2 separate regions of the Homo sapiens genome follow, and region 1 is linked to region 2. The links are contacts of gene promoters, found by promoter capture Hi-C in human tissues and cell types (Jung and others, 2019). All regions are on one chromosome and are shown on one strand. The core of a region is centred on a gene start or on the middle of the fragment in contact, and the rest is flanking DNA. Distances in the headings are between cores, read along the strand shown.

Evidence for each region. The method cuts DNA at HindIII sites, captures the fragments that hold promoters and counts their contacts. A contact is called where the count stands out against the background at its distance.
Region 1: a contact is called between a fragment that was not itself captured here and the fragment with the promoter of NRN1L in region 2, in 1 of the 25 tissues and cell types used here (IMR-90 fibroblasts).

Annotation. Positions count from the first base shown.
Region 1 is chr16:67,727,509-67,733,639 of GRCh38, reverse strand. It overlaps RANBP10 (RAN binding protein 10), which reads left to right. Exons shown (of 14, transcript NM_020850.3): 7 at 2,056-2,168; 8 at 3,594-3,702; 9 at 3,812-3,960; 10 at 4,156-4,360; 11 at 5,129-5,250; 12 at 5,744-5,889. Among named protein-coding and RNA genes, the nearest start is that of GFOD2, 11 kb to the right of the region's middle. The HindIII fragment of the contact is 3,468 bases long and covers 1-3,239 here.
Region 2 is chr16:67,880,572-67,886,437 of GRCh38, reverse strand. It overlaps NRN1L (neuritin 1 like), which reads right to left and starts at 1,553. Exons shown (of 3, transcript NM_198443.2): 1 at 1,456-1,553; 2 at 584-716; 3 at 70-464. The coding sequence starts at 1,534. The coding sequence ends at 179. It overlaps EDC4 (enhancer of mRNA decapping 4), which reads right to left. Exons shown (of 29, transcript NM_014329.5): 18 at 5,448-5,866; 19 at 5,258-5,362; 20 at 5,021-5,173; 21 at 4,905-4,941; 22 at 4,593-4,770; 23 at 4,329-4,484; 24 at 4,111-4,226; 25 at 3,844-4,009; 26 at 3,573-3,759; 27 at 3,261-3,480; 28 at 2,707-2,870; 29 at 1,939-2,482. The coding sequence ends at 2,290. RefSeq lists enhancers at 959-1,466, 1,467-1,976, 2,282-2,461. The HindIII fragment of the contact is 2,833 bases long and covers 498-3,330 here.

The DNA of each region.
Region 1 (6,131 bases), core at 256-2,755, 150 kb after region 2:
TTCATATGTAGCATTTGCCAAGACCTGCATATAATTTGTGTACTGTGGTTTTACATAACTTCATTTAATGAATATTGATAATGGCTATGTTATCACAGAGACAAATTTGTCACAAGCCTTTTGGCTGGCTTCCTCTAGTGGAAGGTCAGGTAATTCCTTCTCTTTTACTTGTGTAGGTAACCCTCTTGTAGATAAAGACTTTTTCATATTTACCCTTGTGTTTATAATAATAATATGGTGTAATAATAATAATTATACTTACTTTACTTTTTTCTGAGTCAGGAGTTTACTCTATTGCCCAGGCGGAGTGCAGTGACACAGTCATGGCTCACTGCAGCATGGACCTCCTGAGCTCAAGCAATTCTTCTACCTCAGTCTCCTGAGTAGCTGGGACTGTAGGCATGCACCACCACACCTGGCTAATTTTTTGTATTTTTTGTGGGGACAGGGTTTCGCCATGTTGCCCAGGTTGGTCTCAAACTTCTGGGCTCAAGTGATTTTCCTGCCTCGGCCTCCCAAAGTGTTGAGATTACAGGCATGAGCCACCACACGCAGCCAATAATTTTTTTTTTTTTTTTTTTTTTTTGAGATGGAGTCTCGCTTTGTCGCCCAGGCTGTAGTGCAGTGGCGCAATCTCGGCTCACTGCAAGCTCCGCCTCCTGGGTTCAAGCCATTCTCCTGCCTCAGCCTCCTGAGTAGCTGGGACTACAGGTGCCCGCCACTACGCCCGGGCGTAATTTTTTTTTGTATTTTTTTAGTAGAGATGGCATTCCACCGCATTAGCCAGGATGGTCTTGATCTCCTGACCTTGTGATCCGCCCGCCTCAGCCTCCCAAAGTGCTGGGATTACAGGCATGAGCCACCACGCCTGGCCATATTTTTAAAGTAGAGATGAGATCTTGCAATGTTGGCCAGGCTGGTCTTGAACTCCTGGCCTCAAGTGATCCTCCCGCCTTGTCCTCCCAAAGTTCTGGGATGACAGTCATGAGCCATCACGCCCAGCTGATAATTATTATTTATACTATAATATTATGTAATATATCATTTCATAATAAGAAGTCTTATTTATGGACTTCTTCCTGCCAGGTACTTTATGTGTATTATCTCATTTACCCCTTAAAGCTTGAGGGAACACACACCCAAACTTCTGTGCCTTCCACCTGACAACCCTTCAGACATTTGTGTTTAGAGTTACAGTAATGACATCAGACACATGTACACACCAAGGTATTCACTCCTGTACACATCAGATTTGAGGGTTCAGCCTCTGCTTTATATGTGTACACACATGTGCCACTGTTCAGCCAGCTTCTGCTGGGGTTAAATGGCTACAGGGAGTCAGACTTCTCCAGACCATTTCCCAATGACTGTGTTCCCATTGGCCCTGCTGCTGCCTATCTCTGCCTGGCAAAATCAGCCTGATTGCTTGGCTTCTTGGGCCCCTGATTTGTGGTGTATCATGGTGTAACTCTGGGTTGTGAGTTAGCTTCCCATCACTCACTCACTAGAGCTGGAACTGCTGAGGGCAGGTTCACCTGGAGGGCTGAAATGCTTCTCTCAGGTACATGGCACAGCCTGCAGAGGGGCTCCTGTGTCTGTAGAAGGTGTGCATGTGGCATGCATCCTGTCTGGAAATCTGCCAGATTACCTGGCTAGCTGCAGTTTCGGGAAGCTATCAGTGAGACTATTGGCCTCTTAGGCTTGCTGCATTTCCCAAAGAGGCAGCCACCTGTGAGGAGTGTGCCTGTGTGTGTACTTCTGTTATCATACTCGCTTACTTGTGGGCAGCATGTCTCAGATAAACTGCAGCCACTCCTCTGAACTGTGGGCACAGATGTGGTGACCAGCCCCTCCGAAGCCTGACTTCATGACCGTGGGGCACCATGGGGGAAGTTTTCATTTTGTTTCAGCCCCTTTATTCTCATTCTGTGGAGGTTACACCTCCAGGACGTGTTTAGGGAGACCTCTGGGGGAGGTAATCTGTCCTGAGTCCATTGGGTAGTCAGTGAGAAGTGCAGTTCTTGAGTGTCACCTGAAGCTCTTCCTTTCTTCTAGCATGGTTTCATCTTACCTCGTGCATCATGGGTATTGTGCCACAGCCACGGCTTTTGCTCGAATGACTGAAACCCCGATTCAGGAAGAACAGGCGTCCATAAAGAACAGACAAAGTAAGGTTTATTCTACTTTCCCCTTTCCCTTCCTCACCTGTCCCTAACTCTGCTCTCTGGCTCATGTCAACCCTGGTTAACCTGTCAGGAGTCCATTCAGCTCTGGTCCTCATGACCAGCTTGCAGCTCGAGGCCATGTTCCTGTCCCACCTTCAAGATGGCACTGCCCAGATGGACAGTTGGCAGGATGGAGACGTCTCAGGGCAGCCTCCCTAATGCACATTCTGAAGGCTGGGCGCAGGCCAGGCCCTGGCATGGCTGGTTCCATTCCTCCATTTCCTCCCTGCTTGTTTCCTTCCCCCTGAATCCTGGATTCCTCTCAACCTCCTGTTCATGGTCTTCCAGGAAGGCTGTTTGCCTGCCTTAGTAGTTCTGCTTATTCCTAGCCAGAGAGGGGACTGAAGTGGTCAGATAGGGCAAAGCCAGTGCTCAATGGCTGCTGTGGGGGCACTACCCTCTGCTCCCCACCACTGGTCCTGCCCTTTGCAGACAACCTAAAGTCCTCCCTTGGCCAGAGCTCTCCCAGTGTTGATGCTGGCCTGGATGCTGTGTGTCTGGAGGCTCTTTCACGGAAGGAGGGGTGTTGGAAAAGAGGAAAAGGAGCCCAGTGAGGAGCTAGAAGGAGAAAAGGAGAATGAGGGCAAGTGGGTGTGGATATGCGTGTCTGTGAGTGCCTGCCTACCCCTCTCCAAGCCTGCTGTCTCTTCTGTATGTGCACGTGTCTGTCTCCCAGAGAAGCTGTGCTCAGCCAGACAGACGGAAAGGGATCCCAGACTTGGGATCTATGAATGAGAGCCTCAGACTCTGAAGTTGCTCCCAGCGAGATGCACCAGGCCCCACGGCAAGAGCGAAAAGGCAGCAGCAAGATGCTGATGGCGTGAGAGGTGTCAACATCAGAGGTGCCAGCATGAGGAGGATGGCCTCCTCTCCCAGCAGGGGGCATGCTGCAGCCCCTGAAGACCACCAGCCAGAGCCCTGGTCAGAAACCAGTGTGATTCCATTGCCATTCCCCTGTGAGGCCTGGAAGGAGAGGAGTCTGTCTGAAGAGGAGCCACTCAGGCCGCCAAGCTGCCTGGGTGCCCATCCCCAGATCATGTTGCCCCAGCTGGGGCCCTACCCTGCCCCCAGGTCCCTGGCACCATGTGCCCCGCAGGAGCAGACCTCCACATTTACCCTCCTGCCTTTGGGCTGAGAGTCTCCCCTCCATCTTCCCCATATTCTTGAGGACTCTCTGACACTTGGCAGAAACCAGGATCTGTTGGGCTGGGCAGTCAGGTTCTTTCTCCAGCCTCCTCTCCTGTGAGCATTTCAAGCTGGCGAGGCACTCTGAGCCGGACCCTACCCTGAGGCTGGCAGCATCCCAGGTGTGTGGCTGTGGGAGAGGCCTGTAGCCCTCGCTCACTGCTGTGTTCTTGCACCCTGCAGAGATCCAGAAGCTGGTGCTGGAGGGCCGTGTGGGCGAGGCCATCGAGACCACCCAGCGCTTCTACCCAGGGCTGCTGGAGCACAACCCCAACCTCCTCTTCATGCTCAAGTAAGTCTTGGGCACCCCCAGCTCCCCCAGAGTCCAGCCCCTCTCAGCTGGTGGTGGGAACGTCAACCTGGACCACAACCAGAGCATTATTGCTCCGCTCCCTCCACAGGTGCCGGCAGTTTGTGGAGATGGTGAATGGGACGGACAGTGAGGTCCGAAGTTTGAGCTCCCGAAGCCCCAAGTCCCAGGACAGCTACCCTGGCTCCCCCAGCCTCAGTCCCCGACATGGCCCCAGTAGTTCCCACATGCACAACACAGGTCAGCCACTCTCCAGAGGGCTCTGGGAAGAACTGGTGTGGAGGAGAGAGGCCACTCCACATACCCTTTCCTGGGCTGGGCTCAGGGCTCACTGCTGGATTTGGGAGAAGGGAAATGGGACCACTGTGGTTGTTCTTGGGGCTTCATTTCATGGGAAGCTGCCCCTCCTCTTCTGACTGTCACCCTGGCTTCTAGGAGCAGACAGTCCCAGCTGTAGCAATGGCGTCGCGTCCACCAAGAGCAAACAGAACCACAGTAAATACCCTGCACCCAGCTCCTCATCCTCGTCCTCCTCCTCCTCCTCGTCCTCTTCCCCATCCTCCGTCAATTACTCCGAGTCCAACTCAACAGACTCCACCAAGTCCCAGCACCACAGCAGTACCAGTAACCAGGAGACCAGGTGCCTGCCTTGCTCTGCTTCCTCCTCTGCCTTCTGCCTTATGCCAGCTGGGCCCATTGCAGTCTGTCCTTTGAGCGCCCTGCCCTTCACCCCCAGCCTCCATCTCAGGTCTGTGCCTGGAGTCCTAATTTTTGGCCCACCGGGCCAGACATCAGCTCTGGCTTCTGGCCCTCCCCACGATTTAGCTGCACTTTCTTTGGCCTTGGCTTTCTCCAGAGGCTCCAATGATGCCAGGCTGAGGATGTGGTCTCCTCCAAAGAGGCCGGGCCTGTGAGAACCCTCAGGGTCCATCATGAGGGAGCTTTCCCTGGCTCTGGCTTGTAGACAGCCAGGTTGGGCAGGCAGGGGAAGCTAAGCCGCAGGCTAGAGCTCTAGGTGGCTCTCAGCATCCCCAGGTACACCTCAAGGCTGACCTGAGTTTGGCTTCCAACCAAGGCCACAGAGCTGCCCATGGGGGCCATGGGGCCCAGTCATTAGGTTGGGGGATATGTAGAAGAGGTGTGTGAACTCAGAGGAGGGCCAGGGAGGGGAGAATCACAGAGGCAGCACTGGGGCAAGGGTGGGAATCAGGTGACAGGCCTCTGAGGATAGCTGGTGTCACAGTAGGGGCCAAGTGCTGAAGACTTGGAAGCCTGAGCTGTCCTTTCATGTTCCTGGGGGTCCTCGGTTCACCCACAGCAACCCATGGCTACAGCTTGAAAGGAGGCCCAACCAGGCTGCTCCAACCACACCCCCTGGGCCAACTCCCACCTCAACCCCTCCCCACAGCGACAGTGAGATGGAGATGGAGGCAGAGCACTACCCCAACGGTGTGCTAGGAAGCATGTCCACACGCATTGTTAATGGTGCCTACAAGCATGAGGACCTGCAGACGGATGAGTCCAGCATGGGTGAGAGCCACGGCCCGGTGTGCTATTCTTTGAGGGCAGTGTGCAGTCTGGGTGCCCTCTTCCCCTGGGAGGGGCTGGGGTAGGCAGGCTTTGGCATCTTGAGAAGCTTCAGCCAGACCTGGTCCACAGCCTCCTTAGCCGATTGTGAATGGGTCCTTGAGGTGGCTCCAAATGTACGAAGGCCCTGGCCTGTGCCAAGACCACCTATGTTTGAGGCTGGAGGGTGTTCGAGAGCATGGGCACCCTAATGAGCACCCTGCGTCTGTGCAGGCTGGGAAGAGGGACAACTTCCAAGTCCTCCCTAAATCCTAGACTGTGCGCCAGGTGAATGAAGAGAAGAACGCCTTGACTGTAGCTGCCTCACCTGTTCCTCCCAGCCCTGCCTGCCTCTGGCAGAAGCTGCAGCCCACCCGGGGTCCTTCCTGCCCCACCCTAGTCCTGCCCTTCCCTCTTCACCCCTCCTAACACGTTCTCCACTGGGTTCTGGATGCAGATGACAGGCATCCTCGGCGGCAGCTCTGCGGGGGCAACCAGGCTGCCACAGAAAGGATCATTCTGTTTGGCCGCGAGTTGCAGGCATTGAGTGAGCAGTTGGGCCGGGAGTACGGCAAGAATTTGGCCCACACAGAGATGCTGCAGGTACAGGATGAGCCGGGCCTCATGCAGAGCAGGCCCCATTTGGTGTTGGGGGCAGGGTGGCTCTGGGAGAGTCCAGGGGGCAGCAGGAAAGAGTGGGCTCCAGCCAGGTCTGCAGAGGGAAGTGGGGCATCTGGGCCCACTGGACATGTGCCCTCCACACCTAGGCTCTGGGGAGAGTACAGCCCTGCCCGACCCTACACCCCACATTCCAGGCTGGGCATCATGCAGGGCCCTGTCTCCCT
Region 2 (5,866 bases), core at 304-2,803:
ATCAGTTTCTAGGAGTCCCTGGCCCCAGCCGCAAGCAAGGCCACAGCCAGGAGAAAGGAAGGAGCTTACTACAAATATAAATACCTTTAATGAAAAGCCCTGCTGCGCTCTGCAGAGCCTGGACAACCACCGCCAGAGCAGGGCTGGAGGTACGGGCGCTGCTACCCAACCCAACAAGCTAGGCCAGAGGCCTCAGGAGGTAGGCCAGAGCCAGAGCAGCCGCCAGCAGTGGGGGCGCAGGGGCCATGGGGAGTGCAGGCGCTGTAGCCCGCAGCGTCTCCTGGTTGGTTTCGGAGCCTGTGCCGCGCTCCCGAACATGCACCGGGGCACCGCACAGAGTGTGCAAGTTATTCGGACGGGGGGCCTGGCGAGCTTCTTGCTGTAGTGATTCCCACACTGCAGCTGCCTCCTCCGGACAGCCTGACAGGACCTGAGAGGCACAGGCATGGAAGTCATTCCAAGACCTGTTAAGGGAGTGGGATTAGGGGGATTAGGTGAGGCAAGGAGACTTTAGCTTGGGAAATAAAAGGTTCAGTCCCCAATGGTGGCACAGGTTGGGCCACTGCCTCACACCCGCCGGTACCTGCAGATGGTCTCCAGCTCGCCTCCGCGGCCCATGCTGTCCCCCAAGCGGATGAGACACTCGGCGAAGCCCTGGTATATGGTGTCACATCGGTTTGGGCCCGCTGCAGCTGCTGCCAGGGGAGGTAAAAGGACTAGAAGTGGGGCGGGGGTGGGGTGGGGAAGGAATGGTAGATAGGATGAGCCAGGCTCATCCCCCAGCCCCCAGGGGCTTGTTTACCTGGGAGCACTCTGGGGATGTGACTCAGCGGAAAAAGGGTGCCCCAGGGAACTAAAGGGCAAGTCTGGGGATTACCTACCCAGGCCCCCTTCAAGGTAGGACCCAGACTGGGATTTGTACAGGGGAAGGGGGTGTTGTGTACCCCAGGTCAGCTCTTCCTTTGAGCTTCTGGGGCCGCAGGTGGGGTGACAAGGGTCCATGTAAAGGAGTCAGGACAGGGTGGAGGGGAGGGAGGTCCAGAGGCCCCGGACCAGGAGCAGGTGCATCTCTCTGCGGTTTAGACAAGCTTTGCTTGGCCCTCCGAACTCTCTCTAAAGATAAATATTTTTGGAGAGACAAGGCAGGATGCAGAGGTATTGGGATCCAGGCCAGACCCTCAGAGAGGACTTAGGGATCCTACGACTGGTCTATAAGTCCTGCCATTGGCATGTCTCCCTTTATCATAAGAGGGGATGCAAATTTTGGAGTCCTTCTCCCATAACTGGGGCTGTTTGTGCCTCTCACTTTCTGTCCTGAAGTCACCAGCACACCTTCCTGGAGCCCTTACAACTCTTCTCCACCCTGGCACCCAGCGTTCCCACACACCCTATGCCCAGCCTGGCTTGGCTGGGCGAGAAGGGGGTGTGGCCCGGGCCCCGGATGCCCGCACTCACCGAGGGGCAGCAACAGCAACGGCCTCAGGGCATGGGGTGGTTGCCGGCAGCAGCAGCGGCGGCGGCAGCAGCGCATCATCCCTGGCTGAGAGCCTAGTGCAGGAGCTAGCTGCTTGGAGTGCAGCCCGTCCGCCCAGCCCCCGGAGGGAGGGACGGTGATTGGATGGGAGCTGGGGGTGGGGCTCCGAACCCAGCCGGCGGCTCCGCCTCCAACACCCAGATGGGAAAAGGAGCGAGGAGACCTCAGAGAGCAGAAATTCGCAGGAGCACAGGCTGGTGCTGGGCAGGCCCCTGGACCCTCACTCCATAGAAGGAGGGAGAAGGGAGATCTGGGAAGGCAGTTGGAGCAGATGAGTGGGTAACCCGGCCCCTTGGCTGGGTTGGCCTCGACAGAGCTCCACGGGCAAGAGATGGGCAGAGAACGAACAGACGGCAGTTATGAGAGTCACACCAAAGACAAACCAAAAGCACACACATACTCCATTTTATTCCAAAAGCATTTAATTGAATTTCTCAATGTTTTTCAAAAACAAAAAGATCCAAATTAGAGGTAAAAAGGAACATGGAAAATTCCACTCAAGTGGTGTCACGATCTCAGGGTCATGCTCCAGGCATGGCAGAACCCAAGCAGGCGCAATACCTGCCCTGGGCCCAGCTAAACCTTCTGACTACCACACGCTGTAGACCACGGCCAGTGCTCCCTGCTCCCTGACCCCCAAACACCCCAGAGATGGGGGCCTGAGCAGGTAAAGGCCAGCCGTGACCCTGCCCCAGCCTAGGCCTGTCTGCTGGCCTTCAGTGCCATCCCACCCCTGGGCAAGGCAGGCTTAGCAGCTAAGGGAGGCTGGGGGTCACGAGGCCATGCAGCATGAGGCTGAGACGCCGAGCTGCTTTGCCAAGTGAGTTGTGTGGCTCAGCCTGCAGGAACTGAAAAAGCTTTTGGCGCACCTGGGCCATAACGGAGCCCATGTGGTCCCGAGTGATGGGGTCACTGTGGTCCAGGTGCATCACGGCCTCTTCCAGGTAGCTGGGGATGGGGGGGAAAGGACAGGCTACAGGTGGGTGCCAGCAGACGGGAGCGCCCCCTGGTGGCACCGAGGCCCAGAGGGAACCCTCTGGGTGAAGGCAGAAAGGACTGGTGGAGAAAATTAGGGAGAGGATTCAGGCAGAAGTGGGCGTCAGCTTCAAACTGCTCCCTCCCACTGCCCCACTCCCCAGCTCATCTCCCCATCCCTGGCTGTCCCCACTTACCTGAGCTTGAGGTCAGTTCGAGTGCCAAGGTCAGATGCCAGCTGCTGGATGAGGGAAAGGAGCACAGGCTGGGAGAGCGGGCAGGGTGGCTGCCCAAAAACCTGGGCTGGGTCCACAGTTTCACACACATACAGCACCAGGTTCAGGTCAGCAGCTGTCAGCGCCTGGAGGAGAAAAAAGCAGCAGTGTTTATAGCAAATATCAGGATGGAATGTCTGCTTGTCTGAACTGTGTGGCCTGGGGGAGGATGACCACAGGGTGGGCTAGTGAGAGCTCCAGAGGGACTCAGAGAGAGCCTGTAGGGCTGTGTAGTTACCCTAGGGGATTGGGAAATGGGTTCCTGAGAAGGGTAGTTGTAAAGCAAGGTGGGCTAGGTGGGAAGAAAGGGGTCCAGGAAGAGGAAGCAGCAGGGACAATGGCCTGGAGGCCAAAGGGAACCAAGAACAGTCTGCTGGGGCCAGAAGGTGCAAAGGTGGTGGGTGGAGTAGAATGTATGGTATGTGGGCCTTGTCAAGAGACACGTGACCCTTAGCAGGGCCTAATGCCTATCGTACCTGCTGGAAGGCCTGATTGAGGTGGCCCTGCTGCAGCAGCTGCAGGATATGGGCTTGCTGGGCCTGGCAGTCAAGGTGGGCAGAGGGGACAGGTGTGCCAGCAGCTGAGCGCATGGCCTGCATGATGCTGGAGGTGACGGCGGCCTGCTGCTCCTTGAGCGCCACACTCACCTCACCCTTAACGATGCGCTGTACCTGTGCTAAAATGGACTCCTGCAGGCTGCAAAGGGAAGTGAGTGAGGTGAAGTGGACAGGGAGCCTAGTCTGGCCTTTCTCAAGCCCACCACCTTGCCCAGTACTCTGCCCACACACCTGCCCACAGCCACATGCAGCTGGTGCTGCACCTCAGCACGAACACTGCCGGCCACGGTGGCTGCCATCTGCTCAGTGGCACTCTGCAGTGTGCTGACCAGGCCCCGCAGCTGGGCTAGCACAGGCTCCCTGGCCTCCTGTTCCCGTGCCTTCCGGCTCTTCATGTGGCTTTCTAGCTGCTGCAAGTCTGAGGGGTGACCACAGGGACTATAAGAGGAACAGTAGGAAAGAGGATAACCCCTCCCACCTTGGGCCATATGACCCCACTCACATTCCTGTGTCCCCAGCCGGAAGCTATCATTGATTTGCTGGAACATGGCCTGGCAGCTCTTCTCAAAGGCCGGCAGCACCACACTCTGGAAGGCTTCCCGGTAGGCAGCCTGCATCGGCCCTTGTAATGTGTCTGCAGCTGCTCGGGCGATGGCATCAGTCAAGTTCTGGGGTTAGAGGGAGGGGCCAAGTTGAAAGCCTGAGCCCAGCCTGGCCTGACTAGGCCCAGGAACCACCACCTCCACCCACATCTTGGGCCCTATAGCACCTTGGACTTGAGCAGCTTGGAGATGTTCTCTTTCATGCTGCCCTCCACAGCTGTGAGCTTGGTAGCCACTGAGTTGCTCAGTTGGCCTGCCATAGGCTCCAGACTCCTTGAGACACCTGGGAGAGGGGAAGAGGGTGAGGTGGAGCCATGAGAAGAAGCTTGACAGGTACCCCACTCCCACCTGAACCACCCAAAGGGAGTCTGCATGCAAAACTCACATGGAGGGACTGTCTTCTTGATCTCATCCCGTATGCTGCGCTCTAGCCGCCCAGCTACAGCTGACGACAGTGCTTGGGACAACTGTTGTGTCAGCTGCTCCTGCAGCTGCCCTCCCCGCTGCTGCCCCTCAGCCAGTGCTCGCTCCAGCCGCCGCTCTGCGCCATAGCTAAGGAACGGGCCTGGAGCAGGTCGTGTACTCCTTCCCAGGCCAAGAATGCTGCCCCCGTCCCTATGCCATGTTGTGCTACCAGTCTCAAGGATACGTTCCTGCTCGTGCCGAGTCTCAAGGGCACGTTCTACGTGGCCTGTGACTGTGCTCTGCAGGCCTTCGAGTTGGGTACACAGACGCTGCAGCAGCTCTTCCTGGCTGTGCCGCAGCTCTGCCAGCTCTCTCTGCTGTTGCCAAATTAGTGCTGGCCAGTCCTCAGGGGGCTCTGCCACCTGTCAGTAGCACTGACAGTCACACGATGCCTGCCCCACCTATTCCCACACACCAGACCAGGGAATGGCCCAGAGCCCTTCTCCACCCGCCCAGGGTGAAGTTCCACAAGTACAAAGTGGGCTCATTCACTTACCTGGTGCTCTGTGAGCCGGGATCCCATGGCTGCATCCCTGCCATAGGCGAGAAGCACCTCAGGCTATGTGAGGCAGCCTAGAGACCACCCTCTCCCTCCCTAGGATTTCTCCCTACCCATCATCCTTCTTGCTTTTCCTCTTGAGCTTGGGTGAGGTTCGAGGGGATCCCTTGGTCTTCCAGTCCTTGGCAGGCAGCCGTGGAGCAGGAACTTTGGTGCCAAAGCCTCCTGAAGCAGAGGCAAGGCTGGCCACCTCATCATCATGGTCACTGTGGGAAGGGGAAGGAGGAGTAAGCCCCTGCCCACTTGCTGCCCATCCCCCCATGAGGGCAATGGTGTAGAGTGGCTCCCACCTTTGCTCAGCACTGGCATCCTGGCTGTCACGTTGCTGCAGCAGGTGATATGGTGGTCGGTGGAAGGCCAGGCTCTTGTGCTTTTCCTGAAGGCCATTCCTGGGGCTGGGAGGACAGGCCAACTTAGCCATGGATGAATCTATCTGAAGCCCCTCCTGCTAGCACACTTTTCCCCTCCCAAGCTCCTCACCTTTCTGCCAGGGTGCTGCAGGTCTCACGAGTAATGTCAGGTGCTGTGGGCCAAACCTGACTGTCAGGAGTCGAGGCCTCCTGGGTCAAGGCTGCCTCCAGGAGGGAGGGGGTATTATGCCGATCTCCATCCCCAGGGCCTCCATCAAGCCCGAGCTGGGGGCCGAGCTCGGGCCCTGGCCGGGGCCGTGGGGACAGCAGGTGCAGTGCCGAGGCGGCTGAAGCCATACTGTCTGGCTCAAGGCCCTCTGGTGCAGAGGAGCCAAAACCACGGGACAGGGCCTCAGATGCAATCTCAGGGATGTCCTGGGACAGGGCAGTGGAAGCTGAGGAGATGACATCAGGGGAACGAGTGCGGCTAGGGGAGGCTTGGGGTAGCCCCAGGGGCTCCACTTCCTGCAGCTCCAGGGACAGTGCAGA